6 separate regions of the Homo sapiens genome follow, and all the other regions are linked to region 1. The links are contacts of gene promoters, found by promoter capture Hi-C in blood cells and fetal thymus (Javierre and others, 2016). All regions are on one chromosome and are shown on one strand. Each heading gives the region's core, a stretch centred on a gene start or on the middle of the fragment in contact. The rest is flanking DNA. Distances are from core to core; before and after follow the strand shown.

What was found. The method cuts DNA at HindIII sites, captures the fragments that hold promoters and counts their contacts. A CHiCAGO score of 5 or more calls a contact.
Region 2: a contact is called between a fragment that was not itself captured here and the fragment with the promoter of FNDC9 in region 1, in 1 of 17 cell types (activated CD4 T cells). The highest score is 5.8, in activated CD4 T cells.
Region 3: a fragment that was not itself captured here is called in contact with the fragment with the promoter of FNDC9 in region 1 in 1 of 17 cell types (naive B cells); the score reaches 6.9 in naive B cells.
Region 4: a fragment that was not itself captured here is called in contact with the fragment with the promoter of FNDC9 in region 1 in 5 of 17 cell types (activated CD4 T cells, neutrophils, M2 macrophages and 2 more); the score reaches 7.7 in activated CD4 T cells.
Region 5: a fragment that was not itself captured here is called in contact with the fragment with the promoter of FNDC9 in region 1 in 1 of 17 cell types (activated CD4 T cells); the score reaches 5.2 in activated CD4 T cells.
Region 6: a fragment that was not itself captured here is called in contact with the fragment with the promoter of FNDC9 in region 1 in 1 of 17 cell types (neutrophils); the score reaches 5.4 in neutrophils.

The regions. Positions count from the first base shown.
Region 1 is chr5:157,343,825-157,348,642 of GRCh38, reverse strand. It overlaps FNDC9 (fibronectin type III domain containing 9), which reads left to right and starts at 2,966. Exons shown (of 2, transcript NM_001001343.4): 1 at 2,966-3,102. The region is part of intron 23 of CYFIP2 (cytoplasmic FMR1 interacting protein 2); the gene reads right to left. The HindIII fragment of the contact is 2,139 bases long and covers 2,386-4,524 here.
Region 2 is chr5:157,811,109-157,815,926 of GRCh38, reverse strand. It overlaps CLINT1 (clathrin interactor 1), which reads left to right. Exons shown (of 12, transcript NM_014666.4): 4 at 1,634-1,742; 5 at 2,700-2,864. Among named protein-coding and RNA genes, the nearest start is that of CLINT1, 46 kb to the left of the region's middle. The HindIII fragment of the contact is 1,473 bases long and covers 1,820-3,292 here.
Region 3 is chr5:157,754,047-157,758,864 of GRCh38, reverse strand. It overlaps LSM11 (LSM11, U7 small nuclear RNA associated), which reads right to left. Exons shown (of 4, transcript NM_173491.4): 3 at 4,778-4,818; 4 at 1-4,011. The coding sequence ends at 3,601. Among named protein-coding and RNA genes, the nearest start is that of LSM11, 13 kb to the right of the region's middle. The HindIII fragment of the contact is 6,812 bases long and covers 1-4,818 here.
Region 4 is chr5:157,697,735-157,702,552 of GRCh38, reverse strand. LOC105377676 (a long non-coding RNA gene) reads right to left here. Exons shown (of 3, transcript XR_941129.3): 2 at 3,627-3,754. Among named protein-coding and RNA genes, the nearest start is that of C5orf52, 29 kb to the right of the region's middle. The HindIII fragment of the contact is 9,921 bases long and covers 1-4,818 here.
Region 5 is chr5:157,643,756-157,648,573 of GRCh38, reverse strand. It overlaps SOX30 (SRY-box transcription factor 30), which reads left to right. Exons shown (of 5, transcript NM_178424.2): 3 at 1,758-1,937. Among named protein-coding and RNA genes, the nearest start is that of SOX30, 6.3 kb to the left of the region's middle. The HindIII fragment of the contact is 4,220 bases long and covers 448-4,667 here.
Region 6 is chr5:157,618,942-157,623,759 of GRCh38, reverse strand. No RefSeq gene overlaps it. Among named protein-coding and RNA genes, the nearest start is that of SOX30, 31 kb to the left of the region's middle. The HindIII fragment of the contact is 7,544 bases long and covers 1-4,818 here.

The DNA.
Region 1 (4,818 bases), core at 1,717-4,216:
GTCAGAAGTTCAAGACCAGCCTGGCCAACATGGTGAAACTCCGTCTCTACTAAAAATACAAAAATTAGCTGGGCATGGTGGTGCACACCTGTAGTCCCAGGTACTCGGGAGGCTGAGGCAGGAGAATCACTGGAACCCGGGAGGCAGAGGTTGCAGTGAGCCGCAATTTTGCCACTGCATTCCAGCCTGGGCAACAGAGTGAGACTCCAGCTCAAAAATAATAATAATTAGCCAGGGGTGGTAGTGCACACCTGTAGTCCTAGCTACTTGAGGGGGCTGAGGCAGGAGGATCTCCTGAGCCTTGGGAGGTCAAGGCTGCAGTGAGCCATGACTGTGCCACTGCACTCCAGCCTGGGAATTCCAGGGCGTGCTCTGTGAGCCACTCACTTTCCCCATGTGCCAATCCAGCTTTGGGACTGGGGCTTGCCCCATATTATCCCTTCACTGCCACCTTCAGGAAGGGTGGAAGAACCTTGCTCCTAGCTGATTTCCTCTAGCAGTAATTTACTACTGATGTCAACTAGCTGGGGCTCACCTGGCCTGAGAGCGAAGAGGCTACAACTTGCACAGACTCTGGAGGAATTGTCCCTGATGATGGAGAAAGTGTGAGCCTGGCTGGGGTGTAATGTCCTGGGGCAGGTGTCCCAGATACTTTATCTCCTTCACAAACGGCTGCACTGGCTCCTCTGGGTGCTGCTGGTGAGCGGCGACAGCTCAGAGGAGCGGGATGAACCCTGGCCTCCGCCTCCGAGTCTGGGGCCCCACCCCATTTCACTGGCAGCTCTGCCACTCATCAGTCAAGCGGTCTGAGGAATGCCATGTCTTCTCCCAGGACTGTGAAACAAGAGGGCTTGGAGGCCTCACATTCTCTGAGTATCTTAATTCCACAGTGGAAAATTTCTCTTGGTTAAAAATGTCATCCAAGAATATTAAAAATAAATTCCAATTTTCTGTGGAAAAAGGCTTGAGTTCTACCTTGTTCCTCCTCAGACCCCTTAACTCTGGTATTTTTACTCCCCGCAAAATAACCTTTTCAAAGGGCATCTGCAAACAGCTGCGTGGCCTTTCTGTGGGGAGGATGCTTTTATGCTCCGTGGGGACTCACCATTAGCACTTGACCTGGCTGTGCTCGCATGGGAAGAGACATGCTGCATGCATTGCTGCAGATTTAAGACAGGCGCCTGGGAAGACTGAATGCCATGGGCAAGCTGCAGAGCAACTTTCTGATCAAGGAACACTGGCTTGTTCCCGAGTTCCCAAGACTCCAAGCCTCCCGGAGACCTTTGGCCAAGGGTAGGGTCACAACTCACCAAGGCGGCTCTTTTTTTTTTTTTTTTCCAAGGGAAAAAGTCTTTCTATAATACCCAGGCTGGTCTGGAACTCTTAAGCTCAAGTGATCCTCCCACCTCAGCCTCCCAAGTGGCTGGGACTACAGGTGCACACCACTGCAGCTGTGCCTGGCTTTCTTCCTAACCTTTTATCATTAATGTGAATCAGAAAGAGACCTTCATGGGTTAACTTGGATACTTTGGCCAAGAACCAAGAAGAGAAAAGCTGACTTTTAAAAACATATAATGTGTATAAATTTATTCAGGTCTACATCTATCTGAGCTACTTTCCACCCTCTATTCCAGACACACCCTGTGATCTCAATAGAATGGTGGCAATGGGTTCTTACAAGGTTGAAAGGAACAGGAAGGGATGGAACCTCAAAGCCAGACGGCCCTTTATGAGAAAAGGGGAGGCAAGCAGTCTGGATTCTTGAAAGGAAAGGAACGCTGGGGATGATTCAATCCAGGAGTAGCAAACAGTTTCCATTTCTGGCGTCAACTCCAACTGATTGATTGGGAAGCAGTTTCTTGGGACGCTTGTGTTCAGAGGAACTCTGGGGCTGTTTCTGCACCCAGCTGGAAGCAGTGCTGCATTAGATTCCTAGGGTTGCTATCACAAATTACCATAAATGTGGCAGCTTAACATGACAGAAATTTATTCTCTCACAGTTCTGGAGACCAGAAGCCTGAAATCAAGGCTCTCGCAGAACCATGCCCTCTCCAAGGCTCTAGGGGAGAATGTTTCCTTGCCTTCCCAGCTGCTGATGGCTCCCGGTGTTCCTTGGCTGATGGCAGCATCCTTCCACTCTCTGCCTCTGTTTTCCCTTGGCTTCTTCCCCTTGAGTCTCTCTGTCTTTTCTCTTACAAAGACATTAGTCATTGGATTTAGGGCTCACCCTTAAATCCAGGAAGATTTCATCTTGAGATCCTTAACTAGTTATATCTACGAAGGCTCTATTTCTAAATCAGGTCACATCCTAAGGTTCTGGATGGATATGTATTTTGGGGGGGCATTATTCAACCCAGTGAGAGTGCCATGATGGTTTAGCAAGCTTGACAGGGGTTCAGGGCTGTGCAGGGATAGGGCTCAGGTCTTCTGCCTTCTGATCTGCCATCCTGATGTAGCCCAAGCCCACAGCTTTACAGATGATGGTGGAACTGAGACTCAGACAATAAAAATAAAAGGGTCTTGACCAGTACCATATAACTATGTAATGGCACATGAGTCAAGAATAAAGAAAGATGAAGATAAAGAGGTGGGGTAGGCAGTTGGGATGGGGAAGTGTAGGGGTGGGAGGGGATGAAGATGAATATTACTGCTTTGGTTGTGGAATAACTGAGAAAAGCATCTTTGCATTTAAAACCATTGGCCAAAGAGGATCTAGATGGGACAAGAAAATAATAATCAGCCAACTGGGGAGAAAATGTAGGAGTGTTAGAAGAATTAGTACTGCACTGGGGACCAGTTTTCAGGGGATCATCTGCCCTTTTTCAGCCAAAGGAATGAGAGCTCCTCTCACTGGGCAAAAGCCTTTCCAGGCTGGTCCCTGAAAGCATCGTGCGTACAGATGCCTGCTGGTTGCCATGGTGAATGATGCTGATCTGAAGAAATGAATAATGTGAGCATTAGGGGCGGCAGTGGGATTACTCAGTGTTGAGAGAAACAACACGGAAAGCCCAGAGCAGAGGAGGGAGAAGGCCCCATTCTCTCAGCTTTAATCTACTGCACCTCGGAGGGCAGAGCTCTAACCAGACACGCTGCAAGCATCAGGTAAGACATATAGATGGCTCTTCTTGGAAATGGAAATGGCTTCTTTTCACACTCTGCTTGGAGAAGGGCCGGGCAAATGAATAGTTAAAAATAGGGGAGAATTTAGAAACGGAAACAGAGGAAGAAAAATCAATAAGGGAGACGGACCTGGTCCTAAAAGGTGAGGATGCTATTTGCGTCTTGACAGAAAGCTCTTAAAAATGTCTGCTGAGGTAATTCCATCTGTACAGACAGCTAGTGGCAGATAGGAAGCCAAGAGAACATTTGTGCGTGACAAGAAACAGGATTCCTGATTACTCCTGATGGAAAGGTTTTACACAGGTGGCTGCCTATAATGAATTAAGCTCTTTTCATCGTGGTCGAAAGTGTATTTATAGTGATGTGTGGTGTGGGGAGGATGAGTGTGTAGAGGACACCAAGCTAGGAAACATAAACATTCGGTCTCCTTCATGATGACCTTCCCTGGAAGGGTCTGAGCACATCCGTCTCATCCCTTTCGTTCCCTATTTACTGGGAAGAAATATTCAGCCACATAGAAAGACACTATTCACCTTCCTGAGTATCTTAGTTCACTGTTACCCTTACAGAAGAAAAACAAGGATTAAGAAACTACTCAATGCTGTGCACCTTTCTGCAGCTCCACTCCTGGAGGAAAATGGGCACAAACACAAGAGGATGGGGGAAAGCAGAGGTGAGAGAAAGGCAGGTCATAATAGCCATTGGTTTGGCTTAATATCCAATGCAGGCGAAAATCCAGTTGACAGCTGTTTACTATGTCACTGCAACCCAAAATGAAACCTACGGGGTTTCATGTGAGGGAGGAGAGGCGGAAGACAAAGCAGGGTGAGACTGTTATGTGAATATGCGTAGGCTGACTATGACTGTCTCTGTATTTCTGATCAGGGGCAATCAGTAGAGGGAACTGCATGAGAGAAACTAAAATACTTGAAGATGGCTCTCTCTTATCAAAGCGGGGCCTGGCAATCTAAAGAGGGCTCATTTGATTTGTCTGGAAAAACAGCAACTGGGTCTCAGTCCTGGCACCTCATTTTGCGATAACGTCTGTAACTAAACCCGGCAGCCTTGCATTAGGAAATGTAGTGGTTAGGCGGCACTAAGTCCTTTTTCTACGTATTAGCGGTGTGACATCAGGTTGCTCATCCGTAAAATGGGAATCTAGCTCAGAGGATGTGATGAAGAATAAAGGAAATTAATTACTGCCTGTGAATCATCTAGCATGACAAGTGACATAGCAACCACTTACTGTGAGTGGTTATTACCATGATTAACATTCATAATAACAGCAGAATTAAATAGTGGTAGTTATGCTGATATTAGGGGCTGATTATCTTCACCCATAAAATAAATTTCCTGGTACCGCTGGCTTTGAAAAAACAAACAAACAAAACAAGAGCAGAAGCTTTGGGGTGAGATCAGCTGCCAAAGAGTGACGAAGCGAATTTCCACTCACCATGGGCAACAGAACCAGGAGGCTAAAAAAAGCAGTGGGCAGAATGTTCTAGATCACTGAGCTCACAGTACTTGGAGCAGAAACAGGAGGTCAAGAAGGAAAATTGAGGTGAATCAATTGCCTGAGGGGAGGTCACAGACCTGAGAATAAAGGTGGAGCCTCTGAGGTTCTACTGATTTCTCCTTACCTTTTCTTCTTTTTTCTTAAGGGGATGAGAACAATCCCCTTAAGAAAATCCCCTTTGT
Region 2 (4,818 bases), core at 1,307-3,806, 470 kb before region 1:
TGGTCTGCTTATATGTCAGTGGTCCCATTGGATTATAATACTCTATTTGTTCTGTACCTTTTCTATGTTTAGATACAAAAATACTCAGCATTGTGTTACAGCTGCCTATAGTAGTCATTACAGTAACAATGCTGCACAGGTTTGTAGCCAAGGAGCAATAGGTTGTCTTATAGATTGTCAGTGTGTAGCAGGCCATACCATCTAGGTTTGTGTAAGTACACTCTATGATATTAATACAATGACGAAATTGCCTAATGGCACATTACGCAGAACATATCCCCATCATTAAGTGACACATGGCTGTAAATTACTGGTAGAAGGAGGTTTTGTGTCCCTCAGTTTTACCAACCTAACTAAATTTTTTTTGTTTTTGCCACCCCCTCCTTTCCGCCTAACTAGATTTTCATATACCTGATCAAGTGAGGTTTGTTCCAAGCATTGTTAAGTTCAAAATGTACAATTTATTATATAGTATATTCACAAAGTTTTGTAGGAGTAACTACTGTCTAATTCCAGAACATTTTTATCACCCTGTAAAGAAACCCTACACCCATTAGCAGTCATTCCAAATTTACATTTTAACAAAATTTAGTTTGGGGGTGGGGGTTGGTTGTTGTTTGTTTGTTTTTAAGACAGTCTGGCTTTGTCACCCAAGCCAGAATGCAGTGGCATGCCCTTGGCTCACTGCAGTCTTGACCTCCTGGGCTCAAGAGATCCTCCTGCCTCAACCTCCTAAGTAGCTAGGACTACAGGTGTGCGCCACAATACCCAGCTATTTGTGTGTGTGTGTGTGTGTGTGTGTGTGTATGTGTGAAGATGTCTATTTTGCAAAATTTTCTACCTTCAGGTTGTTTAAATTATTATTTTTTGGTAACAATCTTTTTTTTTTTTTTTTTGAGACAGAGTTTCTCTGTCGCCGAGGCTGGAGTGCAGTGGTGCGGGCTCAGCTCACTGCAACCTCCACCTTCTGGGTTCGAGTGATTCTTGTGCTTCAGCCACCTCAGTAGCTGAGATTACAGGCGTGGGCCACCATGCCCAGCTAATTTTTGTATTTTTAGTAGAGACGAGGTTTCACCATGTTGCCCAACCTGGTCTTAAATTCCTGACCTCAAGTGATCCGCCCACCTCGGCCTCCCAGGAAGTGCTGGGGTTACAGGCATGAGCCGCTGAGCCTGGCCACAACCTTTTAAAACAAAAGCCACATAATTAACCTCAAAATTAAATTTTATCTGGGGAAAATACTATAGGATTGTTTAATTACCAAATAATTTCTGGCAATTCACAGTTCCATAATGCTCAGATAAAAAGTAAAAACTGAGTCAGCTTTCTAAAACCTTATTGTCTATTTATATCAAGCATTCTGATATTTTGAACATCAGTGTTATTCTTTTAAGTCTTTGACACATAGTATCCAGTAGATGATTTATAATTATTTATCATGCTTAATATAAGAGGAACTTCAAATTGATTATGTAAGTTCTAGATTATGTGTTTAAAGTCTAATGTAAAGAAACCTCACCACCAGCATGAAGATTCTTTATTTGCTAATGTTAGAATTATTTTTTTTAACCATTTACCAAAGCTCTACTAGAATATATTTCATTAAATCATTTATTGCTTTGTATTTTTGCAGTCGTTGCTGCTCCTAGCTTACCTCATAAGGAATGGATCAGAGCGTGTTGTTACAAGTGCCAGAGAACACATTTATGATTTACGATCCCTGGAAAATTACCACTTTGTAGGTAAGCAATAGAAAAACCTTATAAGCAAATTAAAACAGTAGTTGGAGTTGTCAGTCACCTGAACCAGCTTAGAAGCTTCTCTGCTCTAATTAGAATGTGACTGTTGCTGGTTGTGTGACGAGTGCAGAATCCAAGACGTGGGGCCCTAGAGTATTAATTAGTGAAGACAAGAACTTGCAGAAAAGACTGGCTAATAACAACAGAACCAACACAACATGAGTGTTCGGGTTTATATTAAAATATGCACTGGAGACTGGTCCCCTGTGGTGTCCATAAAGGAATAGCTTTAATCATATGGGAAGAAAAGGTTAGAGCTCCAAAACACACACATCTGTTTGAAGCTGGGGTTTTTTTCCCTCCCACCAAATAATATTTACTGTGCAAAGGCAGCAAGGCCACAGTGTGTTTTGAATGTGAAAGAGGCTAGAAAATGAAGCACATTTCATTTTGTAGCGTACCCCACTTGTAAGCACTTTAAAAATTCAGTTTTTGAGCTATGCTAAAACCTCATAATTAGTGTTCCAGACGTGTACTGGGGAAACCAAGACATTTGTGTGCTTTTCAGTTATTAACATGCTAAAGTGGTTCTTCTTTTGATTTGTTTTCTTAAAATATGATAGAAAAACACAATAGCACTTATGGATATGTCTATTTTGTGTGGTCATCATCAGTAATCCTTTTTAGGTCAATCTTTAATTGACCTTGCATAGTACCATTATCTGTGGTCCTTTTTAGTTCATCTTTACATGCTCTTATAAGCCAAAATTCCATTTTAGAACTTAGAATTTGCTGAAGAGGAAATGACAAAGTTAAATAGCACAACTTGCCCCTTTCTATTGTTTTTTAAATATTGAAGTTTCTTATGTTGAAGTTTTTGTGTCTTTTTTTTAATCTTAAAGAGCTTGATACATATTAAGTGAATTCTTAGGTTTTGCTTATCTCTTACCATCCTCATAGATGAGCATGGTAAGGATCAAGGTATAAATATTCGACAGAAGGTGAAGGAATTGGTTGAATTTGCCCAGGATGACGACAGGCTTCGTGAAGAGCGAAAGAAAGCAAAGAAGAACAAAGACAAGTATGTTGGGGTTTCCTCAGACAGTGTTGGAGGATTCAGATACAGTGAGTATCAAAGACAAGCTGACACCTAAGCATCAGCTTAGCTTCTTGAGTATATTTTAAGAATCAGTGAAATACCAAAGACCAAAATGCTAATTTTCTTTTCTAGGAATACATAGAATACTAAAATACACGCAGTACTAATCTTGACTTCTACTATCACATGAATCTTCCTATTTTTAACTTGTGGGTTCGGCAATAGGATTTTAACCATTAATGGCTAATTAAATGACTGCATATTTTGAGGTGTCATACAGAGATTAAAACAGATATATGCCCTTCCCTCTTAGGATTGCCATTTTAAAAAGAAGGGGGAAGAAAGTTTCTATAACTCAGAGTTTAGAGTATAAAAATAAAAAGTTTGATCAGGAGATCCATCTTTCTAATTTGAAACCAATTTAGCTGTATTTTTGGCCCAAACCAGATAAGCTTCCTGACAGTCATTCCAGCCTCAGTCTCTCTTTCTTTATTTAAGCATTGCATACTTTGACATATAAAAGATGACTGACGATACTCGCAGTTTTTCATCTAGGCCTATTGTTTTGTTTATTCTTCCCAGTACACTTAAGAGCAGCTAGAACATTCATCTTTCATGTTTATTTTTAATATAATAATATAGTTTCTCTAAAATAGGGCATAGGTGCTTGAAGCAGATACACAAAATAGGAACTGTCTTTCACGGCATGTCCCTTTGGACTTGTTCTGTCTTCTGTGAGCTCTGACAATCTCTTGCTCATTTTGTGTATGTGCAGACTGGCCAGTGCTGTGTATCTTAGCAGCTGTTCACTGAGGCTCTCCAGCTCCCCCCACCCATATATGTTTATATTTGGATTATATTGAGCTCTCATATCTCCTTCAATGGAACCATGTAAAAATCTTAACATATAAAATATCCTTACTCATTTATTCCTCTGCTTTCCCACTCTCAAAGAAAAAACACTGCGTTTAGTTAGCTGTTTAAGGATGTTTCTAACAGCAGAAAAATTCCCTTTTTTATATTGAAGCATCAAATACAAGTTAGTTTTTTCTTTTTCTTTTTTTTAAATAGGGCTAACTCATAGGCAGTGCAACCAGAGTCGGCCACAAGTTAGTTTTTGAATTGGGCAAAAATATTTCTCCTAAAGCATATAAATAATGTTTTGAAGTTTCTATTTGGGGAAGTCCAAAGTTTTTGGATTATTTACCCAAGTAGTAACTTTATTCTTCAGGTTTTTCAAAGTAGTTGTAGCAACTTAATGTGTTTTTAATAGAAATTGCTATTTGAAACTTATTTCCACACTATTCTTGCTTGTATCTTTCTTTTTGCCAGCATGATATATAATTATATCAGCTAAACTTAGAAAATTGAATACGTTTTCAAACTCAGTCACAATGCACTAACTGCAGCATCTGTATTAAAGATAGAGTTGGATATCCTGTGTGTTTGCATCACATCCTTTTGCTAAGTTATTGTTCATGGTTTATGTTATTCAGACTTAACTAATCACTCTTAGCAGTTTTGTGTTTTTTCTTTTTCTTTTCTTTTTTTTTTTTTTTGAGGATTCTTGCTCTGTCATCCAGGCTGGAGTGCAGTGTTACCATCTCAGCTCACTGCAACCTCCGCCTCCCGGGTTCAAGTGATTCTCCTGCCTCATCCTCCCAAGAAGCTGGGACCACAGGCGTGAGCCACCATGCCTCGCCAATTTTTGTATTTTTAGGGTTTCGCCATGTTGGCCAGGCTGGTCTTGAACTCCTGACCTCAAGTGATCCAGCCACCTTGGCCTCCCAAAGTGCTGGGATTACAGGCATGAGCCACCGCACCCGGCCAGTTTTGTGTTTTTTCATTCTGACATTAGATAATGTCTTGCCAATATCCAGTATCTTTAGCAGTAATTCAGTATGATGTTCACCATGCCATGCTAATCAGTTTGGTTTTCATCCACTTCCATTTTTCGTGTAAATTTGTTTCTTTCCGAAG
Region 3 (4,818 bases), core at 1,492-3,991, 410 kb before region 1:
TTTCTTAATCACTTGTTATTATCTAACAAAGGTAGATACTTTTGAGAAGACCTCACCAACTACATAAGTATGTCCTATAAATTGTCTTGAAAACATATTCCCATGTTTAAAGATTACTTTGAAGAACCAAAGTTGAATGTTCAAAAATAAAAACTATTCTTACCAAGTTTCCCAAGCCCAAATCCCTGGAGAATTCTAGAAACCAGTTTTGTTGGTTTCTAGTATTTCAGTATTCAGTATTTCAGCTGCATCGAGCCCCCCTCAGGTGAGCTAGTGGGAGTTCCCCGACTCTATCATTATGTTCCTCATTTTCTTTCCTTCTCCTGAGGAAGTCTTCAGTTATTTCCATAGCAACTTGTGATAATGTCCTAAATGATCACATTTTTTGAATAGCACATATATTATTGGGACCTACTTTTTCTTTCTTTTAAACAATATCTTCGATAATAAAGAAAAGGGGACCGGGCGGGATAGCTCACGCCTGTAATCCCAGCACTTTGGGAGGCTGAGGCAGGTGGATCACCCAAGGTCAGGAGTTCAAGACCAGCCTGGCTAACACGGTAAAACCCCTTCTCTACTAAAAATACAAAAAATGAGTCAGCCATGGTGGCTGACCCAGCTACTCAGGAGGCTAAGGCAGGAGAATCGCTTGAACCTGGGAGGCAGAAGTTGCAGGGAGCTGAGATCGCGCCACTGCACTGCCTAGGCAACAAGAGAGAAATTGTCTCAAAAAAAAGAGAGAAAGAAAAGGGAGTAATCTTTAAAAATGAACTTCTGTTAAAAAGTAATTATCATGCTTTATACAAAACAGCACATTTACTAATTTACTAGATAGAATTCATTCCAGAACCACTGTCCAGACCAAACAAACAAATGGGAACATAGAGCACATAAAATAGATCATACACAGTTTAAACATAATTTTCATAGCCAGAATTGTCATGTTGGGCAAAAAATGGTAAATCAATCCTTATACGGCTATATGAAAATTATAGGTAAACATAAAAACAGGCATATGTTTAAGTCAGGTTAGATTTAACTAGGCACTGGAATGAATGAAAACTGATTATATTCCGTTGGATTCCAAATTTCTACCTTATTGGGAAAGTAGAGTACATCATTCTAGCCGAGGGATGAGAGGGCAGGCAGATGAGGATAGCCACACAGGTATACGCAGTGTTGCCTGATGATTAAACCTGACAACTATTTTGGGAACTGAGATTTCAGATACACTATTTAGAATTTAGACTGGCAGCTTCCAAAGATTACTGTTCACTTGAGTTTGTAAACTGGAACCTCTATAAACTTTAGTGCACCTGATCTGGCTCTAGAGTACACTTTACAATGCATTTAAAAATAAAAACAAACAAACAACAAACTTCCACAGATTGCCCTTTCGGGATGTGTCATTTTTAGATGCTCATTCTCCATTTGGTGCTACCATATAAACCCCTTGAAAAGTTCAGGGGATTCTTTCTGATAATGATCAGAAAAGGGTGAGGCCTGGGATATAGCGGGAGCAGCAAAAAAAAAGTTACTCTCCTCTTACTGAAGATACTCTTCTGAGAACTTCCATTGTCCCTTAGGAGGAAGGAATGGAATATGGAAGTTCCAGAAGATACTGCTGCCTTCCGAAGATAGTTACAACAGGATCATAACTATGAACCCTAAGATTACTTTTTTTTTTTTTCCTTTTTTTGAGACAGAGTCTTGCTCTGTCGCCCAGGCTGGAGTACAGTGGTGCAATCTTGGCTCACTGCAAGCTCCGCCTCCCGGGTTCACCCCATTCTCCTGCCTCAGCCACCCACGTAGCTGGGACTACAGGCGCCCGCCACCACGCCCGGCTAATTTTTGTATTTTTAGTAGAGACAGGGTTTCACCGTGTTAGCCAGGATGGTCTTGATCTCCTGACCTTGTGATCCACCCGCCTCAGCCTCCCAAAGTGCTGGGATTACAGGCGTGAGCCACCGTGCCTGGCTGAGATTACTTTTTTATGTAGCACCTGCCTTGCTTCTGTGTCTTATAAAGACACAGAATTCTTACAAAGCTATGAAACAGAGTCAGGAAAAATTACTCATGGCACTTAAAGATGTTTAGAGACTGTAAAATGCCTTCATTTTTTTTTTCTCAATGCCCCTGTGAGGTAGGTGTCTGTGGGGAAAAAGCTGAGGCACGGAGGGGTTAAGTCTGCTCACCTTTTCATTGCATGATGAGCCAGTGGTCCAGCTAGCAGGACCAGGTGTCCCAGCTCCCTAAACTTTATTCACCCTGCTTCTCAGAAGGCTTATTTATGTTACACAACAAATACAGCAGGGGAAAGTTTTCTTTTCATACATTTTAACTAGTTGGCTATTTCTTATTCTCACCTTGAACATAAGTTATCTCAGATAAAACCAAATAAAAACAAAACAAAAAAATCAATATTGCCTAACAGTCTGTGTCAAATGCAGCCTATTCTGCACTAGTGATTGAAAAAGCACAGAATATGATTCAAGTAGAAGTATTTGTGGGTGCTATGGTGTTCCTGTTGACTCAAGCCAGGCTGTGAGTAAAGTGTCGCTTTAGACACTACCCACTGTACTTTGTAAGAACTTCTTTGGCCTGACACAAGGGAATAAATCTACCACCCCTGTTTCATGGTGAAACCATATTCTGAAAGATATTCTACACATGCTGGCCCTGCCTGGAAAGGGGACTCTCAGCCGTGTGATGTGTATTACCGAGTTCATGCACAACTCTTTGAAGCTGGACATGAAGGTCACAGTCTCCTGACATAAAGCTCACAGGACAGTTCACACTACGGACAGAGGGGCAATACCACAGGGTACATGCACTAGCACCATGCCACAGAAGTCAAAGAGAAGGACAAGAAGCCACCACACAAGCATCTTAGAGTCCCATCTGGTATGCCATTTGCAGAGGCTACCTCTGGTAAGGGGAAGACTGAAGAGGTCCTGTACTCCTTTCCATAATAAGAAGAAGGATCAAAACAGAGCACTCATTGCTGGCTGCTTTGAGCATACCGCCTATCCAAATTTCACCCCTACATAAGTTGGTAACTTTCCTTGTAGATATTCAAAGATAATATATGTCATTTCTTCATCAAGAGAGAATCATGTCAGGCAAAATTCAAAAGTTAGTTACAAGACGTGGATGCAGGGCTCCAAGGCAATTTACACCACTACTCTTGGAATCGAATTCATGAGTACTCAGGGCACTAGCTTTTAGACATGCAATACTTCTTTTTGAGACTTTTCTTTCCCCTATAGTATCTAAAATGTAAATTCCACTCATATCATGACCCCTAAGTCTAATGGAAGATCAGATATTTGGTTTCAGGGTCTGAAGTAAATCACAATACCAAATCAGATGCATGTATCTATGAATGCTTTTTGCCTTGATATTAATGCAAACGCCTGCCCTCCCAAGGCCTGTCCTCCCCTTGAGCTCATCTTCCAGGGGGCTGAGCCTGCTCCGTCCTCTGCATATGCAGGACCAGAGGGAATCATTCCAACTCAGAGTTTCACTGGGATACTAGGATACAGCATAGCAGCAATTCATGCACTTTATTTCTAAAAACCAAAGCTCAGGCTGAGCTGGTCACTGTGCAAGATGAACCAGCAGGACATTCTCGCCTCGAATGAAAATCTGATTTATGTGTCGAGTGAATACCTGCTGGTAATCCACTTTGGGCTTTCGCTTTTTCTTACGGGACTGGCCTCTGGAAAGGGTGGTAGCCCTGGAAAAGGTACCTCCCACACTGGAGCCGTCTGTCCGTGTAGTCCTCCCTGACAGCTCTGACCTGGACTCCTCCCTTGCAGAGGCCTGCAGGGAAGAAGGGACAGAGCGGGAACGCTTGTGTGAGCCCCGGCCAGTGTCTGCTCTTCCCCACACTGAAGCCAACTTCCAAGTGGATGTCTGTGAGTATCTAGACAGAGTGGAATCTTCAACTGCAGACTTAGAATCTGCTTCCTTCTTGGAGGAATCTTGAAGTTTCAGCCGATCAAATAGCTATAAAGCAAACAATGATAAATATTAGCCTTCTCTTTAGCCTTCATCACCCTCTTTCAACATACAGAAAAAGACCAAATTCTTTAATTATGTTCTGTGGACTCCTTGCTTTGCAATTTTTTAAAAGTTAGTAATAAATCTTTTTTTTTTTTTTTTTTTTTGGAGACGGAGTCTCACTCTGTCGCCCAGGCTAGAGTGCAGTGGTGCGATCTCAGCTCACTGCGACCTCCACCTCCCAGGTTCAAGCAATTCTCCTGCCTCAGCCTCCCAAGTAGCTAGGACTACAGGCGCCTGCCACCCTGCCCAACTAATTTTTGTATTTTTAGTAGAGATGGGGTTTCACCGTGTTAGCCAGGATGGTCTCGATCTCCTGACCTCATGATTCACCCGCCTCGGCCTCCCAAAGTGCTGGGATTACAGGCATGAGCCACCACGCCTGGCCATAAATTTCCTATTTCTAACTATAATGCACATAATACATATGTCAAGAGAAAAGGCTTATTTCTGTGGTATAAAGCTGAAAGACTTTCAGGTGTTGTAAGAGACAACTTGCTCCTCAAATAATATGCAGGTTACAAGCACAGACTCACTTGAGATTCACTGGAAGCATGAAAAGAGGAACTAAGGAATACCTTGGTACAGGCACAGCTGGTTTATAGCAACAGAGATTTCCCTCTAGGAAATCCTAGTCACTGGGCTCAGGGATCTTAATTCCTAAGCTGGAAAGCATGATGGCTACTCAGGAGGTCAGGGGAAAACTGCCTACCCTAGTGAGAGTCAGTGAAGAATCCCGTTCATATGCTTTGC
Region 4 (4,818 bases), core at 1,689-4,188, 350 kb before region 1:
TATGCCAACAATTTGTCACCTTAGATGAAAGGGGCAAATTCATAAACAGAAATGATCAAAGTAGACTCAAAAAGAAATTATAAAATTTACATAGATATATATCAGCAAAAAATGTTAAAATATTTACTAAATTATTTTAAAATTTTCTACAAAGAAAAATCTAGGCCTGGATGGTTTTACTTGGAATGGTATCAATATCTAAATAATTAGTAATACCAATCTAATGCAAATCTTTTCAAAAATAGAATAGAAGGGGACACCTTACAGTTCATTTTACCCTGATACTGGAAGCCACAGACAGAGATATCACAAGGAAACTATAGACCAATACTGCCCATGAATGTAAATGCTAAAATTCTTTAAATAACAGCAGGTTAGATCCAGTAATGTACACACTATTACCAAGTGCCGTCAGTTTATTACAGGAAGACACTTTAGCTTAACATCTGAATATCAATTAGTGTAATACACATATTAATAGAATAAAGCAGTGGTCAGCAAACTATAGTCCCTAGGCCAAATTTGGCATGACTTTTCTTTTTGCAAATACAATTTTACTGGAACAAAGCCAAGCCCCTTCATTTACAAATTGTTTATGATTGCTTTCTGCTACAAAAGCAGAGTTGATTGGTTACAACAGAGCTCATATGGCTCAAACCAAAAATATTTACTATATAGCCTTTTCTGGAAAATGTTGCTGACCCTTAAAAGAAAAAGCCATATAATCGTCTCAATAGACACAGACAAAGCATTTGATAAAACTGAACTACTATTCACCATAGAATTCTCAATAAACTAGGAATAGAAGGAAACTTTCTTACTTTGATAAAAGGCAGCTACATAAACCTGTGTTTAACAACATGCTTAAAGGTGAATGACTGAATGCTTTCTTCCTGAGATTGGGTACAAGGCAAAAGGATGTACACTCTCACCACTTCTATTTAACCTTGGACTGAAGGTTCCAGCCAGTGCAATAAGGTAAGAAAATAAAAATACAAAAATAAACATACAACTAACTAAAAAGGAAATTTAGAAAACAATTACATTCACGATAGTATAAAGAGAATAAAGCATTCAGAAATAAAGTTAATGAAAGAAGTACAGGACAGTACACTGAAAATTACAAAACATTGTCAAAGGAAATTAAGACCTAAATAAATCAAGGTATGTTCCATGTTTGTGAATAGGAAAGTTCAGTATCTTCAAGGTGTCAGTTTTCCCAAAATTGATCCATAGATTCAATGCAATTCCTATCTAAGTGTCATTAGGGTTTGCTTTTCTAAAGAAAGAAAAATTGGTAAGAGGATCCTAAAATTTATTGTTTGAATCCAAAGGACCAAGAATAGCCAATATGATTTTGTAAAACAACAAAGTTCAACGACTTACACGATTTCAAAATTTCAAAATTTACCATAAAGCTACAGTAATCAAGACTGTGGTATTGACATAAAGATAGGTATATAGCTGGGCATGGTGGCTCATGCTTTTAATTCACCCTGGGCAACACACTAAGACCCCATCTGGAAGAAAAGGAAAAAAATATGATATTGTAAACCAAAAATAAAATTCTAAGTGGATCTCTCCTCAGGGGTCAGGGCATTTTATTTTATTTATTTTTTTGAGACAGGGTCTCACTCTGATGCCCAGGCTGGAGTGCAATGGCACAACTTCAGCTCACTGAAACCACTGCTTCCTGGACTCAAGTGATTCTCCAGCCTCAGCCTCCTGAATAGTTAGGATTACACACACAGGCCACCACACCTGGCTAATTTTTTTTTTTTTTCCTGAGACGGAGTCTCACTCTGTCATCCAGGCTGGAGTGCAGTGGCACTATCTTGGCTCACTACAACCTCCACCTCTTGGGCTCGAGCAACTCTCCTGCCTTAGTCTCCCAGGTAGCTGGGATAACAGGAGTGTGCCACCATACGCAGCTAATTTTCGTATTTTTAGTAGAGATGGGGTTTTGCCATGTTGGCCAGGCTGGTCTCGAACTCCTGACCTGGGGTGAATTGCCTACCTCAGCCTCCCAAAGGGTTGGGATTACAGACATGAGACACCGCACTCAGCCATGCAGAGATTTTCAAAGTACCAAAAAAATGGTTTTGCACCTCAGCCCAACACCTTCCTCAATGTTTTCTTTTTTCTTTTTCTGTTTTTTTTTTGCCCCCAGATGGAGTTTTGCCTCTTGTTGCCCAGGCTGGAGTGCAAAGATGCAATCCTAGCTCACTGCACCTCCGCCTCCTGGGTTCAAGCAATTCTGCCTCAGCCTCCCAAGTAGCTGGGATTACAGGCACATGCCACCACACCTGGCTAATTTTTGTACTTTTTTTTTTAGTAGAGGTGTGGTTTCATCATGTTGGTCAAGCTGGTCTCAAACTCTGGGCCTCAAGTGATCCACCTGCCTTGGCCTCCCAAAGTGCTGGGATTACAGGTGTGAGCCACCATGCCCTGCCCCTCAAGGTTCTCAAAGAGTCGGTGAAAGAGAAAATTTTCGTTGGGGAGGTGCTCAAGTGCTTTACAATTTCCACCTTTCTCCCTCACAAAGGGATGCTCCCCACTTCAATATAAGCTCAAGAGCCTGAACTATGTCCTCTGACATCTCTGAGGCCCAAAGTTCTATATCAAATACAAACCAGAAATACACGAAAGTTGAGACTAGCCAACTAACTGCCTGTCTGATAAAGAGGTGTCTACCTAGGGACAGCTTAACACTACCTGGATCTGTGAAGGCACAGTATGCACATTTCATAGAGAACTGGCCTGCTGTCTTTTTTTTTTTTTTTTTTTTTTTTGAGAAAGAATCTCGCTGTGTCACCTAGCCTGAAGTGCAGTGGCACAATCTTGGCTCACTGCAACCTCTGCCTCCCAAGTTCAAGTGATTCTCCTGCCTCAGCCTCCCAAGTATATGGGATTACAGGTGCCCACCATAAGGCCTGGCTAATTTTTGTATTTTTGGTAGAGACAGGGTTTCACAATGTTAGCCAGCCTGGTCTTGAACTCCTGACCTCAAGTGATCTGCCCTGTGCCCCCCAAGTGCTGGGATTACAGGCATAAGCCAAGGCACCCAGCCAGTTTTTGAAACGTAAGTTCTGTCTCCAGTTTCCCATTTTTACTAAAGACAAATCACGGTAAGACTGATTTGCTTTATTATGCTTGGTCTGATTATTTGTATAAAGTGCAGCAAAAATAATTATTTTTTACATAATCTCTTTTTAAATTGGCTTTGATGGAACTCTGTTCCATAGAAGGTATCTTAGATAAGACTTTTTTAGAGCTGAGCCCATGGGTTTGTACTCTCAAATACCTATGAGTTGAGTAAATTCCTCTCCTCTTGTGGTCCCAAGATAATTTGGGGATCCTGGACCTGTCAGAAAGTGACATTTTTGTACTTACCATAGGTCAGAAACACTGTACAGGGACTGCTGTAGACAAGGTCTGAGGCCAATTCCCCCAGGGGCTTTTATTGGCTTTACAAGTCAAGTTTGATTCCTTAAAGGAAAACACCCCATTCCAGTCAAATCGTTGGTAAAATAATCAGTGTTTCCAATTTGTCCCGTTGCAAAAGAAAACAGATTCTTATTGCACTTATGCAAATAACTATATTGCCGTAATGTAAGAATACTCACAAATAATTTCCAAATTCTGGAGAAATTAGGTAGAGAGAAACAAATATGCCTCAAATGTTATTCACAGCAATATACTTTACTCAATTGCTACAAGCTGCAAGCAGCTCAAAAGAAAAGTTTCTTTGACTCTGAAAAACAAAACAAAGGATCAGCAGCATTTTAAGCAAAGTTAAAAAGATTAGTCCTCTATTGGTTCAGTCAATTCAGTTAACTCCTGTTCTGCTTGATATTCACGAACATTTCAGGTCTCCATGAGAGTTCTGAAATTGTTTTATTTTACTGTCAAAATTTTCAAAGTTATCAGAAACCTGCATTTAAGAACCCCTGTTAGAGTTCTATAGTTGATAACAAACCATCTTTTGAAGAGGATTAAAAGAAGACAACAATTGTGTGTGGATGATAAAAAGTCTTAGGACAGCCACTATTAAAGTCACAATCGATAAGGAAATTTGGTTCCTTCTGTGGCATATAATAATTTTATGTAACAATTATAATTATTCATAACATACACTAAGTCATATCAGAATTATGAGGTTTTTTATAATTGTGGAAGACACACCAATAACACATTTACACAAATACAGCCCAAAGAAATCCAAACACCATTTTACATTTGATAATGCTTCCTGAATGATTTTTGTATCAAATAAGCCAAATGTCACTGTTGCATTAGAGCATTACTGATGACAAACCCAATTCTTTATAAAACCTTATAGGCAAATGTATTCAATCTTAATCAGTTTGACAACTAAGTAAAATTTTCACAAACCTTTTATAACCCTTTACAAATTTTCGTTAAAGAGCAGATCATAAGCAGATTTTTGCTCTAAGAACATGGTGAAACCCCGTCTCTACTAAAAATACAAAAAAATTAGCTGGGCATGGTGGTGCGAGCCTGTAGTCCCAGCTACTTGGGAGGCTGAGGCAGAAGAATCGCTTGAACCCAGGAGGTTGCAGTGAGCCAAGATCGCACCACTGCACTCCAGCCTGGCGACAGAGCCAGATTCTGTCTCAAAAAAAAGAAAAACAAGCTACAACTACAACAACAACAAAAAACCCACAACCTGTTGTGCTTTTATTCCAATGTTTTATTTGCAGAAAAATTGAATACCCCTTTAACTTTAGCCAATATGTACACACACAGAATTTCTTACAATTAATTTTCCACAACTTTCCATAACTTGCTTAAAAC
Region 5 (4,818 bases), core at 1,308-3,807, 300 kb before region 1:
AAAATATATAATTTTTTTCTGATATGTACAATAAAGAGAATAATGACTAATATTATAACAATGATTGAAATGACACTGGGCATGAGTTTCCTTAAATAGAACCAAGCAAAGGGATATCTGATTTCATATTCACCAACTCATACAAATCAGAGGACACGCAGTTTTATTGTGGTTTTGATTTAGATAGATGTAAGTTTAATGAAAGTACATCTTGAAAGCTTTAGGCTATAATTTTGCAAGTAAACTATAGAAGTGTTAAAATGATAGCAACAGAAAAAAAATGCAGTCTACGCTTAATGAGAATGCAGGGATTGTCACCATATTCCATTTTAACATATGATTGTCAGAACATAGTCCTGCCTTCTGATTGATAGATTTAGCCCTGTCATGATATAGTGTGAAAGGAGTCCGATTTCTCCCTAGCAGTGGGAACATTGGGATTAAGCTTGGAAAATGCACAGTGCATGGCCAGCATGTCTGTGCAAGGTGGGACAAAACTTATTATTTTCTGAAATATTGGCAGAGAGGTTCTAGTAATGAAGGTCAGAGGCAGCAACTACAGTGAACCAGTGATTGTTCTGATTACACAGTGGCTGCAAATGCCATAGTTCCACTGTTCTGACTTTGGAAGAAATTAAGTTATTTGTGGACTTGGAGATTGCTGAGTTTAGGAGAGTGACTCTTCTTGAACTAGGCACAAAATTAGTGACTGATCAGCCAGGCGCGGTGGCTCACACCTGTAATCCCAGCACTTTGGGAGGCCAAGGTGGGTGGATCACGAGGTCAGGAGATCAAGACCATCCTGGCTAACACAGTGAAACCCCATCTCTACTAAAAAAAAAAATAAAAAAATTAGCTGGGCATGGTGTTGGGCACCTGTAGTCCCAGCTACTTGGGAGGCTCAGGCAGGAGAATGGCATGAACCCAGGAGGTGGAGCTTGCAGTGAGCCGAGATCGTGCCACTGCACTCCAGCCTGGGCGGCAGAGTGAGACTCTGTCTCAAAAAAAATAGTGACTGATCATTAGTGACTATTGCATTGTAAGATATAGATGATTGTAACTTACAGAAAGTGAGGAAATGAGATGAATAATGTCATAGTGAGGCATTATTTGATAAGGTGGAGGAAAGGCTTTGGGATTCAAATACAGCGGTTTTGATGTTGACTCTACTACAGGTTCATTCTGTGTCATTGGTTATAAAACATTTGACCCTTGGCCAGGCGCAGTGGCTCTCGCCTGTAATCCCAGCCTTTGGGAGGCCGAGACGGGCGGATCACGAGGTCAGGAGTTCAAGACCAGTCTGGCCAACACGGAGAAACCCCGTCTCTACTAAAAATACAAAAAATTAGCCGGGTGTGGTGGCATGCACCTGTAATCCCAGCTGCTCAGGAGGCTGAGGCAGGAGAATCACATGAACCTGGGAGGCGGAGGTTGCAGTGAGCCGAGATTGTGCCATTGCACTCCAGCCCGGGCAACAGTGCAAGACTCCGTCTCAAAAAAAAAAAAAAAAAATTTGACCCTCTTCTTTTCAATGATGAGTTATAACATTGGCCACTAGTCAGGAGCTATTTGGATATGTATGTTAAAATACACAGTGGAGAAGTCATTCACTGAAATAATATCCCGGAGCTGGAAAAGATACTTTAGACAATAATTTGTTTTTAAAACACTTTAAAGTGCTTTGCATTTTAGTATGAAAAAAATTATTTAAAGGCTAAATGGAGTCTACACATTTAAACATATTTTGTCTTCTATAGGTTGGGTTTATCAGCCTCGTCCAGGGAAGCGAAAACGATTCCCTCTAAGTGTTTCCAATGTATTTTCTGGTACCACACAGAATATCATCTCTACAAATCCTACAACAGTTTATCCTTACCGCTCACCTACGTACTCTGTGGTAATTCCCAGCCTACAGAATCCCATCACTCATCCAGTTGGTGAGTTAGTTTTATTGTAGATTACTATTTTTTAAATAGCTGCAAGAAAATTTTACCTCAAGTTTGAAGTGTTCTTTCTGTTAGTCTTAAGAATTTGGAACAACAATGTTAAGAAAAAAAGAAGAGGGAAAGTGAGAACATTAAATAGGAGAAGGAAAAATTTCAGTAGAGATCAAAACACTTGGTTTGCCAGAGTAGCAAATAATCCATGTGTAAAACCTCAGACCTTTTAAGCAAATCAGGATGAGCCCATAGATTAGGCAGATAATGCAGGAAATAACTGAGGTAATTCAATAGGAAAAAGGAGAGTCTTTTTACTAACAGCATAAAAGACTGCCTTGCTAATGGGGTATGAGGCATCCTGTCCTGGAACTTAGTAATGATACTGATTTGTTGAGACCATTCTCTCACTGCTCTAGAAAAGCAGTGGAAGTAATCTATTTTCTACCAAATATTTGTTTGGTTCATTATATTAATCTCTCTAAATGTCTCCTCTGAGTTCTTTACATTCCTGTTACTGATTTTAAGAACCAAAAATTGACAACCTAATATCTTAATAACTTGTTATAGGGCTATCCATCATTGGTTTGTTTTTCCAGAACAGTTTTTTTTTTTTTGAGATGGAGTTTTCGCTCTTGTTGACCAGGCTGGAGCAATGGTGCAATCTCAGCTCACCACAACCTCCGCTTCCTGGGTTCAAGCAATTCTGCTGCCTCAGCCTCCCGACTAGCTGGGATTACAGGGATGCACCATCACACCCGGCTAATTTTGTATTTTTAGTAGAGATGGGGTTTCTCCATGTTGGTCAGGCTGGTCTGGAACTCCCGACCTCAGATGATCTGCCCGCCCCGGCCTCCCAAACTGCTGGGATTACAGGTGTGAGCCACCACGCCTGGCCCCCAGAACATGTTTTAACCATCTTTAAGGGAGAGCTTTATACATTCACTACTTGCTGTCACTTTTTTTTTTTTTTTCCAGACAGGGTCTCACTCTGTTGCCCAGGCTGGAGTGCAGTGGCAGCATCACAGGTCACTGCAGCCTTGCCCTCCTGGGCTCAAGTGATTCTCCCACCTCAGGCTCCCTAGTAGCTGGGACTATAGGTGCACACCACCATGCCTGGCTAATTTTTGTATTTTTTTAGAGATGGGGTTTTGCCATGTTGCCCAGGCTGGTGTCGAATCCTGGGCTCAAATGATCCACCCACCTTGACCTCTCAAAGTGCCAGGATTATAAGTGTGAACCACCATATCTGGCCCACTTTCTTAAACCTACTAAGACTGCGTAAACCTGCTTTTTCTATTTTTTTTTAACCTCTTTAAATCCTTCTGGTAATAAAGCCACCCATATGAGCTGAGAGTTTTAGATACCTTGGAAACTGACTTCTTAGAATCTTAGGCATTTTCAGTGTTGTTGTTGTTGTTGTTTTTTAATGTATCATTTTAGCAATTGATAGCAACAAGCTACATTCCAGATGTCTAGACTCAAGAGAGAGATGCAGAAAGCTGATCCTATAGCCCTGTTCTGTCCTAGCACAGGCAGGCACTCTCAGTCTTCACTGTTTGGTAGTGACTTCTTTAATCTTGTATTTCAACCCAGGCTTAATTATGACTTTGTTCACTTACCTTGTTTTTCTGTTATGTTATTTATTTATTTTTTAAGACAGAGTCTTGCTCCGTTACCCAAGATGGAGTGTAGTGGCGCGATCTCGGCTCACTGCAGCCTCTGACGCCTGGGTTCAAGCAGTTCTCCCACCTCAGCCTCCCGAGTAGCTGAGACTACAGGTGCACACCACCATGCCCATCTAATTTTTGTATTTTTAGTAGAGATGGGGTTTCACCATGTTAGCCAGGCTTGTCTCGAACTCCTGGCCTCAAGTGATCCACCCATCTTGGCTTCCCAAAGTGCTGGGATTACAGGGTGAGCCACCATGCCCAGCCTGTGTTATGTTATGATTTCTGTTTTCATAATATAATTTTCTTCTTTTTATCCCTTTTTCCAAGACCTCACTTACATCTGCTTCTACCCACTGTTAAATGCTGTATATTTTCTCTTCCCAGAAACAGAATTAACAACGTTCTTATTTGAAACAGTTGACATTTGATACATTAATTTTATGCCATTCTGAGCAAAGATAAGGGTTTAGTAGAAACTGGAAGATTTCTTCTAATGTTGGTAGGGTTCTTTCTCCATGATGTTGTATTTAAGTATGGTAGGCAGAATTATAGGAAGCACTTCAGAGCTATGCACAACAGTAATCAAATCTAAGACAAGAATGATTTTTTTGTTTGTGCTTAGTTTTTTGTTTTGTTTTTTACAATATCTCTTATTTCTGGTGACATGTAGTGTCAGTAAAGATTTATTTCTTGGGCCAGCTGTGGTGACTCATGCCTGTAATCCTGGTGCTTTGGGAGCCTAGGAGTTCGAGACTAGCCTGGGCAACATAGCAAGACGCTGTCTCTAAAAACAAACAAACAAATTTGTTTCTTGCATCTCAAAAGATAAACAGAGAACATTATCTTATAAGCATAATTTGGGAATTATTAAGATATACACCTTAACAGTAAATCATGAAATTTATCTGCTATTTTGTTCCCCAATCATATGGCTTTGAAATATATTCTTATAGATTGTTCTCATCAACTTGGCTTTATATTATTTAGAGAGGTCAGTATCACTTGCAAATTTGGAAATTTCACTGTATATTTAATATTCTAAATCATTTGTGAAGCTTAAGTTAGAACAGATTATAGCACACATCTCGTGTGCTATAATCTTGGGGAATCATAATTTTAATATCTTGTCATATACAGTTGTTAATGTATATACTTTTTTGTTGTTTCAAGTAATTTCATATTCTAAATATGAAGTTACGGTAATTTTG
Region 6 (4,818 bases), core at 1,187-3,686, 280 kb before region 1:
TTGTTGACTTCTCACATGGTTTTCTGCATTGGGCAGTTCAAATTCCTTAGTGAAAGCACTGGCTGAATAAACTTTTCTTCATTGTATCTTAATGGTCTTAAAAGATTGAAAAACTGAAACTTATAATTGTTGTTAATTTACTGGCTATTAAACTGGCTTTTAAAATTATACTTTAAGTTCTGGATACATGTGCAGAACGTGCAGGTTTGTTACATAGGTATACACGTGCCATGGTGGTTTGCTGCACCCATCAACCTATCATCTACATTAGGTATTTCTCCTAATGCTATCCTTCCCCTAGACCCCCACCCCCCGACAAGCCCTGGTGTGTAATGTTCCCTTCCCTGTGTCCGTGTGTCCTCATTGTTCAACTCCCACTTATGAGTGAGAACATGCGATGTTTGGTTTTCTGTTCCTTTGTTAGTTTGCTGAGAATGATGGTTTTCAGCTTCATCCATGTCCTTGCAAAGAATGTGAACTCATCCTTTTTTATAACTGCGTAGTATTCCATGGTGTATATGTGCCACATTTTCTTTATCCAGTCAATCACTGATGGGCATTTGGGTTGGTTCCAAGTCTCTGCTATTGTGAATAGTGCCACAATAAACATACGTGTGCATGTGTCTTTATAGTAGAATGATTTATAATCCTTTGGGTATATACCCAGCAATGGGATTGCTGGGTCAAATGGTATTCCTGGCTCTAGATCCCTGAGGAATCACCACACTGTCTTCTACAATGGTTGAACTAATTTACACTCCCACCAACAGTGTAAAAGCATTCCTATTTTTCCACATCCTCTCCAGCATCTGTTTTCTGACTTTTTAATGATTGCCATTCTAACTGGCATGAGATGGTATCTCACTGTATTTTTGATTTGCATTTCTCTAATGACCAGTGATGATGAGATTTTTTTGATATGTTTGTTGGCTGCATGCATGTCTTCTTTTGAGAAGTGTCTGTTCATATCCTTTGCCCACTTTTGGATGGTTTTTTTTTTTTCTTGTAAATTTGTTTAAGTTCCTTATAGATTCTGGATATTAGCTGTTTGTTAGATGGATAGATTGCAAAAATTTTCTCCCATTCTGTAGGTTTCCTGTTCACTCTGATGATAGTTTCTTTTGCTGTGCAGAAGCTCTTTAGTTCAATCAGATCCCATTTGTCAATTTTGGCTCTTGTTGCCATTGCTTTTGGTGTTTTAGTCATGAAGTCTTTGCCCATGCCTATGTCCTGAATGGTATTGCCTAGGTTTTCTTCTAGGGTTTTTATGGTTTTAGGTCTTATGTTTAAGTGTTTAATCCATCTTGAGTTAATTTTTGGATAAGGTGTAAGGAGGGAGTCCAGTTTCAGTTTTCTGCCTATGGGTAGCCAGTTTTCCCAACACCATTTATTAAATAGGGAATCTTTTCCCCATTGCTTGTTTTTGTCAGCTTTGTCAGAGATCAGATGGTTGTAGATGTGTGGCATTATTTCTGAGGGCTCTGTTCTGTTCCATTGGTCTATATCTCTGGTTTGGTACCTGTACCATGCTGTTTTGGTTACTGTAGCCTTGTAGTATAGTTTAAAGTCAGGTAGCGTGATACCTCCAGCTTTGTTCTTTTTGCTTAGGATTGTCTTGGCCATATGGGCTCTTCTTTGGTTCCATATGAAATTTAAAGTATTTTTTTCTAATTCTGTGAAGAAACTCAATGGTAGCTTGATGGGGATAGCATTGAATCTATAAATTACTTTGAGCAGTATGGCCATTTTCACAATATTGATTCTTCCTATCCATGAGCATGGAATGTTTTTTCATTTGTTTGTGTCCTCTTTTATTTCATTGAGCAGTGGTTTGTAGTTCTCCTTGAAGAGGTCCTTCACATCCCTTATAAGTTGTATTCCTAGGTATTTTATTCTCTTTGAAGCAATTGTGAATGGGAGTTCACTCATGATTTGGCTCTCTGTTTCTCTATTATTGGCGTATAGGAATGCTTGTGATTTTTGCACATTGATTTTGTATCCTGAGACTTTGCTGAAGTTGCTTAACAACTTAAGGAGCTTTTGGGCTGAGACGATGGGGTTTTCTAAACATACAATCATGTCATCCGCAAAGAGAGACAATTTGACTTCCTGTCTTCCTATTTGAATACCCTTTATTTCTTCCTCTTGCCTGATTACCCTGGCCAGAACTTCCAATACTATGTTGAATAGGAGTGGTGAGAGAGGGCATCCTTGTCTTGTGCCAGTTTTCAAAGGGAATGCTTCCAGCTTTTGCCCATTCAGTATGATATTGGCTGTGGGTTTGCCATAAAAACCTCTTATTATATTGAGGTACATTCCATCAATACCTAGTTTATTGAGAGTTTTTAGCATGAAGGAGTGTCGAATTTTGTTGAAGGCCTTTCCTGCATCTATTGAGATAATCAGGTGGTTTTTGTTATTGGTTCTGTTTATGTGATGGATTGTGTTTATTGATTTGCATATGTTGAACCTGCCTTGCATCCCATGGATGAAGCCGACTTGATTGTGGTGGATAGGCTTTTTGATGTGCTGCTGGATTCGTTTTGCCAGTATTTTATTGAAGATTTTTGCATTGATGTTCATCAGGGGTATTGGCCTAAAATTTTCTTTTTTTGTTGTGTCTCTGCCAGGTTTTGTTATCAGGATGATGCTGGCCTCATAAAATGAGTTAGGGAGGAGTCCCTCTTTTTCTATTTAAACTGGCTTTTTAAGGAAAGTTGATTTGCACCCAAGAATTCAAGTAGGCAAATGTGCTAAATAGATACACAAGTATGTTTTTCACTGTGTCAACCAGCTGTTGGTAGGATTACTCCTGAGCCAAAAATATGAACTGCTTTTGAAAATTGTAGTTTGGAACTGATTTTGAAATGAATTTCTGGAGATTCTATGAACTGCTTGCAATATTTTAAAGTAGTAAAATTTTGATGTGGGCAGAGTAATTCTGAAAATTTTTTGTCCTACATGTTGGAACAGATTCTGCTGGGACACATCATTTTTTTTAGCTTTCTAGGTCATCTTAATAACTTTTTAGGATTTAAGAGAATTTTCAAAGGCATCACAATAAAACTACTTATCTAAAAACAAGTGTAGGAGTTGCCTTTTATCAAATTCTACTTGATGAAAAATTTCACATCCTCTTTACAGTTTTACCCTTTATCTCTGAATTCTGCTTTCAGACCACCCGATCCAGCTTTACAAATCTCTCCTTTGTGATGATGAGTTTAACATGCACAAATCTTAGTAAAATTTTCTCAAAGTGATGAACATTTGTAAGAAGAGAGGAGAAATAGGAAAGTGCTTACAACACCTTTACATCTCTGGCTCCTTCTCTGAAACCACTTAAGGGTAATGTTCTTTTCTATATATATTTTTTTATTTTTTATTCTTTGAGGCGGAGTTTCGCTCTTGTGGCCCAGGCTGGAGTGCAATGGTGCAGTCTCAGCTCACTGCAACCTTTGCCTTCTGGGTTCAAGCGATTCTCCTGCCTCAGCCTCCCGAGTAGCTGGGAGGGATTACAGGAGTGCACCACCACGCCCGGCTAAATTTTTGTATTTTTAGTAGAGATGGGGTTTCACTGTGTTGGCCAGGCTGGTCTCAAACTCCTGACCTCAAGTGATCTGCCTGCCTTGGCTTCACAAAGTGCTGGGATTACAGGCGTGAGCCACTGTGCCTGGCCGAAATGTCCCCTCCCCTCCCCTCCCCTTCTCTTCTCTTTTCTTCTCTTTCTTTTCTTTTTTTTTTTTTTTTTTTTTGATGGAGTTTCACTCTGTCACCCCGGCTGGAGTGCAGTACTGTGATCTCAGCTCACTGCAACCTCCACCTCCCCAGTTCAAGTGATTCTCCTGCCTCAGCGTCCAGAGTAGCTGGGATTACAGGCACGTGCCACCACTCTCAGCTAATTTTTCTATTTTTTTTTTAGTAGAGATGGGGTTTCACCATGTTGGCCAGGCTGGTCTTGAACTCCTGACCTCAAGTGATCTGCCTGTCTCGGCCTCCAAAAGTGCTGGGATTACAGGCATGAGCCACTGCACCCTGCCCGAAATGTCCTATTTCTTAAAATAATGAACAGCAGGTCCGGCACGGTGGCTCACGCCTGTAATCCCAGCACTTTGGGAGGCCAAGGCAGGAGGACCACGAGGTCAGGAGATCGAGTCCATTCTGGCCAACATGGTGAAACCCCATCCGTACTAAAGATACAAAAATTAGCCAGGCATGGTGATGCGCGCCTGTAATCCCAGCTACTCAGGAGGCTGAGGCAGGAGAATCGCTTGAACCAGTGAGTTGGAGGTTGCAGTAAGCCAAGATCCCGCCACTGCACTCCAGCCCGGTGACAGAGCGAGACTCTGTCTCAAAAAATATCTATCTATCTGTCTATCTATCTATCTATCTATCTATCTATAGAACAGCACCTTACCTGTATTTTTGTTTTTTCTTTAGAAAGCTAAGTTTTTGCCTGTGCTCCCTGGGGACACTGTGGAGGCTGACTCCTCCTCCTGGAGAATGTCTTTTCTTTTAAGCTGTATGGAAGGTTAGGGTGACCAACTGTCCCGGTCTTGGTTTGCACAGGACTGAGGAGCAGGGGGTTCCCAAACATAAGACTTTCAGTGCTAACATCAGGAAACTCCTGGACAAACTGTGATGAGTTGGTCACCCTAATGAGAGTGGCAGGCAGCTGCCAAATGCCTAGGCAGATAGGGGTGGGCCTGTGGTAAAACCCCACTCCAAGCTGGAGACAGTTTAAAGCCTGAAAGCCAAGCTACAAGTTAAATCTTCGGACTGGATTGAGAACTTGTCTTCCCGTTTGGTTTGCTTTCCTCT